Regions from separate parts of the Homo sapiens genome. Here region 2 is linked to region 1. The links are contacts of gene promoters, found by promoter capture Hi-C in blood cells and fetal thymus (Javierre and others, 2016). All regions are on one chromosome and are shown on one strand. Each heading gives the region's core, a stretch centred on a gene start or on the middle of the fragment in contact. The rest is flanking DNA. Distances are from core to core; before and after follow the strand shown. Region 1 overlaps CNOT3 (CCR4-NOT transcription complex subunit 3). Region 2 holds the start of PRKCG (protein kinase C gamma).

What was found. The method cuts DNA at HindIII sites, captures the fragments that hold promoters and counts their contacts. A CHiCAGO score of 5 or more calls a contact.
Region 2: a contact is called between the fragment with the promoter of PRKCG here and a fragment that was not itself captured in region 1, in 1 of 17 cell types (fetal thymus). The highest score is 5.1, in fetal thymus.

The regions. Positions count from the first base shown.
Region 1 is chr19:54,155,032-54,157,777 of GRCh38, forward strand. It overlaps CNOT3 (CCR4-NOT transcription complex subunit 3), which reads left to right. Exons shown (of 18, transcript NM_014516.4): 18 at 278-650. The coding sequence ends at 376. It overlaps LENG1 (leukocyte receptor cluster member 1), which reads right to left. Exons shown (of 4, transcript NM_024316.3): 3 at 1,732-1,994; 4 at 130-909. The coding sequence ends at 690. Among named protein-coding and RNA genes, the nearest start is that of LENG1, 3.3 kb to the right of the region's middle. The HindIII fragment of the contact is 5,805 bases long and covers 1-2,746 here.
Region 2 is chr19:53,880,947-53,883,776 of GRCh38, forward strand. PRKCG (protein kinase C gamma) reads left to right here and starts at 1,251. Exons shown (of 18, transcript NM_002739.5): 1 at 1,251-1,718; 2 at 2,217-2,248. The coding sequence starts at 1,549. RefSeq lists an enhancer at 1,703-2,254. The HindIII fragment of the contact is 17,886 bases long and covers 1-2,830 here.

The sequences.
Region 1 (2,746 bases), core at 116-2,615:
CTGTGCACTCACACCTGGGGCTGGGGCCCCGTTCTGGCAGCTGGCTTCGGTGGAACCTCTGCGGCCCCCTCCGTTTCCTCCTCGCTGAAGTGGCATGATAACATTTCCTACCCAAGAAGAACCTTGTGAGGATGGATGAGAGTGTGTGCGTGCAGGGCAGCTGGCCCGGTGCCTGACACATCCACAGCCCTAAGAATTGTCCCCTTTGTCTGTTGGTCCGGCCCAGATCCCAGACCACCTCCTCGTCCACTCACTGACCGCCTTCTCCCCCGGCCAGGGCACCTACATCTACTTTGACTACGAGAAGTGGGGCCAGCGGAAGAAGGAAGGCTTCACCTTTGAGTACCGCTACCTGGAGGACCGGGACCTCCAGTGACACCGGCCCCTCCCTCTACCCACCCCCTTCCCCCGCATGCTGATCCCCCTGCCCAGGTGAGGGCCCTGCCCTGGAAGACTGGAGGGAGGCCCCAAGCCACGGGGCATCCCCCTCTCCCAGGAAGCAGGGAGGGGGCCGGGAGGTTTTCCTCTCAGCCCCACCCTGGGGGCCCGGGGGCGAGGGCTGCCCCCTCCTCCCCTCCCCAGTGAGGGACATTTTTTGGTAAACCTATTTTCATTTTGGAAAATATTTATGAATAAATAGTTTTATATGACGGCTGGCAGCAGCGGCCTCTCCTGTACCCCCTCAGGAGTCAGTGAGTAAGGTGAGGGTCCTGCTGGCGGGGGCGCCGGGCCAGCTGGGGGTTGAATTGGGAGTTGTACCGCCGCCGCCGGTCATCCGTCTCGTCTTCTTCCGGCTGACCCTCCTGTAGTGCCCGGCCTTGGACCCGGGCCAGCAGGGCCTCTGCCCGAGACCTCTCAGCTGCTTCCCTCCGCAGACGTTCAGCTCGAAGCTGGTCCAGGGATGGAGGCCTGTGGGGAGAGGAGTGAGGTCAGAAAGCTGGTAGCCCCTAGGAGGCCATTCCCCCAACCTCTCCCATAGAGGGAGCTGCCGCCTGGAAGCCCCGCTGCATCCAGCACACCCCAGCCTCAGCTCCTTAGGCCTGCTGGAAGCAGCCACTTGGTGCTGGGACGCCATGGGCACGTCTCTGGCCTTCCCTTCTGTGGGCTTTGGTCCTCCCCAGTCTTTAAAATCTGATGCTTCTCCAGGTCAAGAAAGCACACTTAGCAGCCCCCTGGCCCTCAGTTTCCCTTTCTAGAGGAAAGAAGACTACAGGCAGTGTACCCCCTCTAGACCAGGGGTGCAGCATCCTGGAGACAGAAGCCTGCTTTTACTCTCTAACCCAGCAGCTCTCAAACTCTTTGGTCTCAGGACCCCTTTATACTCTTAAAAACCAAGGACCCCAAGAGCTTTTGTTTAAATGGGTTCTCTTAATATGCTGCAAATCATTAGTGAAAACTAAGAAAGTTTGGACACAAGCATCTGCCATTGGCCATCAGAGTGAGGGTGTCTCCCCATCACACAGCCTCTGGAAACCTGCACTACATGCCTGAGAACACGAGTGGAAAAGTCCACCAGTGTCAGGAAAATAGGCTTGACACCACAGCACCCCGGGAAAGGGTGTCAGGACCCCTAGGGCTCCCTGGACCACATGCTGAGAACCACTTCTCCACCTAGCCAGCCCTTCACGGAGTCCCTGGCTGTCCTGACCAGAGACGCTGCAGTGCCCATGCTGGGCTGCTGCCAAGCCCTGAAGGTCTGGGCCCTGGTCTGCCGAGGTGGGGTCTTCTTACTCCTTGGGTCGCTGCTTCTCAGACCCCTCCTTTTCCTTTCTGCTGCGACTGCCTTCATCACCGCCGTGCTGTCTCTTCTTCCCCAGATGCTTCTGCATCTCCCGCAGAGGGTCCAGACGGCTCTTGATCTTCTCATCTGGGGCTGGGCCGGGCGGGGGGCCCCCTCGCCCTGGGGGTAGCTGGTACCAAGGGGGTTGAGTCTGTGCCTCCGCTGCACTCTGGCCCAGGTATGTCAGGATGCCCAGAGCTTTCTCTTGCCTCTCCTGAGGGGGCCAGGAAATACAAGAGATGTGATATAATCTTTCAAGGTGTCAGGTGTGTCTCCCTGACACAGGTATCTAAGCGAACAGGTATCTAAGGCTTGTTATGAACCAGTTGGACCAGGTGCTGGGGATGGAAGACAAACAGAGGCAAAGCTCCCCCTGGGGGGACAGTAGCAGGTACAGTAACAGCAGGGGAAGGAGGGGACAAGTGGAGCCACTTGAGTGTTCAGAGGCAGGCATCTTTGCAGAGAGACTTGAAGAGAAGCCTGAAGGGATCAAGCAAAGCAGAGGAGCGATGGGTGGGGTCAGCAAGTCCAGAGACAGCAGATAAATGACAAGAGCTGATGTACCTCTTTTTTTTGAGATGGAGTCTCGCTCTGTTGCCCAGACTCGAGTGCAGTGGCACGATCTCGGCTCACTGCAACCTCTGCTTCCCAGGTTCAAGCAATCCTCCTACCTCAGCCCCCCGAGTAGCTGGGATTACAGGCACACACCACCATGCCCAGCTAATTTTTGTATTTTTAGTAGAGACGGGGTTTTGCCATGTTTGGCCAGGCTGGTCTTGAACTTCTGACCTCAGGTGATCCACCCACGTTGGCCTCCCAAAGTGCTGGGATTACAGGCGTGAGCCACCATGCACAGCCACTGATGTACCTTTTACACTTGATCTTAGCCAAAAAGCAAGAGGCGATTGATTCACTTTTTGTTTGATTGTTTTGAGATGGGGTCTCGCTCTGTCACCCAGGCTGGAG
Region 2 (2,830 bases), core at 1-2,500, 270 kb before region 1:
AAACAGAAAGAGATTCATAGAGCCAGAGAGACAAATAGAGATTGGGTCAGAGAGAAAGGGACAGAGACAGAGACAGAGAAGAGAAGAGGGAGAGAGATTGGGTCAGAGAGAAAGGGACAGAGACAGAGAAGAGAAGAGGGAGAGAGAGACTGAGTCATAGACAGGAGAGAGACCCCCCTAGCATCAGAGAGAGAGAGAGAGATCAACAGAGCCAGAGAGGGACAAGTACAGAGAAACAGATGGAACCAGAGAGATATAGGAAGAGACAAACAAAAACAGAGACGGAGTTGCAGAACCGGAGGAAGGGAGAGAGACAGAGACAAAGGCATTTATAAAGACGGGTGGAGGTGAGGAGAGAGAGGGAGAGACAGGGGCAAGCATTTAGAGAGTGACTCCCAGAGAGGAAGACAGAGACGGACTCCCAAAGAGATCAAGTTGCAGAGGGAGGGGGAGACAGAGTCACAGCCTGAGAGAGAATAGAGATTCACAGAGCCAGAGAGACAAAGACAGGGAAAGAAACAAACTCAGGGAGACAGAGGCGGAAGAATTTATCAGACGTAGAGGGAGAGACAGAGGGAGACTGATTCACAGTGAGGCAGACCAAGACCCCGAGAAGAACCACGACACCAAGACCCAGAGATGGCGACAGATACAGATGGAGACACACAGCAGAGGAAATAGAGAAATAGAAAGAAATAGAAACAGCATTTCTCGGAGACAGGGAAAAGAAAACAGATCCACTGAGAGGCAGAAACAGAGACACATCGAGAAAGCTCGCTCCAGGAATAGAGGGAGAGGGACAGAGGTCACAAGAAAGACACACGCAGGCAGAGAGCTACACAAATAATGGAGAGGCCAGGGGAGGAAATAAAGACTCAGCCGGCATCGGAGAAAGTGAGAACCTTAGCGCCCTGCCTGTCCACTGCTGGACCCCTAGCGTGGAGCATAAAGTTTGTTGAAGGAAGGAGAGGGGCAGGGTCAGACACAGGGACCCCAGGGCGCCCACAGGACACACGAGGCACCCTAGTGGGGGAGGAACGCGGGGCAGGATGACAGATTGCAGGGTGGTGGGGGGGAGCCAGGCTCAGAGGATGCCCCTCCCTCCAGCCAGCCCCCGGAGTGGGTGTGTGCACGTGTGGGGGGCGGGGAGGGAGGACATTTGTCCCGTGTCTCCGGGAGGGGAGCGCCTTTAAGCCGAAACCCCGCCCTCTCGGTCGTCCTGGCAACGCCTCCCCCAACCCGGGGCTCCCACATTTCAGCAGGTGCCGGAGCTGGAGCTCCCACCGCCGCCGCCCGTGCCTCCGGCTGCCGGCGCCCCTGCCTTTGGCTCTTCCTCCCCACTCGCCCGCTCCCCCTGGCGGAGCCGGCGCGCCCGGGGTGCCGCTCCCTGCCTGGCGCGCTCCGCACCTGGAGGTGCCTTGCCCCTCTCCTGCCCACCTCGGAATTTCCCTGTGGCTCCTTTGATCCTTCGAGTCTCCAGCTCCTCTCCCTTCCACCTGTTTCCCCCAAGAAAGGCAGGATCCTGGTCCCTGCTACGTTTCTGGGGCCATGGCTGGTCTGGGCCCCGGCGTAGGCGATTCAGAGGGGGGACCCCGGCCCCTGTTTTGCAGAAAGGGGGCCCTGAGGCAGAAGGTGGTCCACGAAGTCAAGAGCCACAAGTTCACCGCTCGCTTCTTCAAGCAGCCCACCTTCTGCAGCCACTGCACCGACTTCATCTGGTGAGGGAAGGGGGCTGGGGGACTGGGGGACGAGGGGACTAGGGGTGCAGACTCCTATCACGCCGACCCCTGTGGAAGGAAGAAGGAGGGGGCTGTAGTCCCGACTCCCAGGTTCTAGGATGGCCAGGGAACGCTGGGAGCTTCGACTCCTGGGTTTCAGTGAGGAGGAGGCTGGTTCCTGGAGTGCTGGGTCCGAGGGAGGAGGAGGCTGGAGGACAGAGGTCCTGGAGTCTTGGGTCTGAGGGAGGAAGGGCCTGGGGGGCTGGGAGCCTGGATTCCTGGGTCTGAAGGAGGAAGAAACTGGGGGCTGAACTCCAGTCTAAGGGAAGAAGGGCTGGGGGCCAAAATTTCTGGGTTCTAGAAAGAGGAGGTGGCCGGGGCTTGGACACCTGGGCCCTGCGGGAGGAGGGTCAGAGAGCGCAGGCCCCCTGTGGCTCGCAGAGGTTGGGGGTCCAGGTACCCCTTTCTGCACTGACCTAGGATCCCTGACTCTTCCAGGGGTATCGGAAAGCAGGGCCTGCAATGTCAAGGTAAGAGCTGGGGACCGGGGCTCCTGGGACCCTCAGGAGGGTGGAGGCTGGGGCCCCACAGCTGAGGCTGCTTGACACACGTGTTCTCTGGTCCCCAGAGAGGCGCGGGGGAGCCCGGGGCGGGGGGTGTGGCAGAGACACAGCCTGTGGTGGGGAGGGAGCTTTGATGGTGGGGCCACCGCGGAGGTGGTGCTGGGGGCCCCTCCCTCGGCCGGCTCCAGGTGGGGACAGATATTTGGAGAATCTGTTGCCATGGGAACATGGAGATTTGGAAAAGGGGAGCTGAAGGGGGGAAGGGGGAGGGGGCTGGAGATGCAAAGTCAGAGCCCCCCCCCACCCCAGGCTGCCGTCGCCATGACAACACCAGCCGTCCTAGGCAGGGGCAGGCCGGGTGGGGTCACCAATGGGCGAGTGGGGGCCGGGCGGGGCCGGCAGTTCTGGGGGGCGGGAGAGGGGGGCGAGTCCTTGAGCACCAGCTGCTACTGCTGAGAACAGAGTGAGTCAGGGTGGGGGGCGGGCCGGCAGCAGCGCCCCCAGACTCACTTCTGCCCAAGTTGCTGCTTCCTGGGCTGCGTCTGAAGA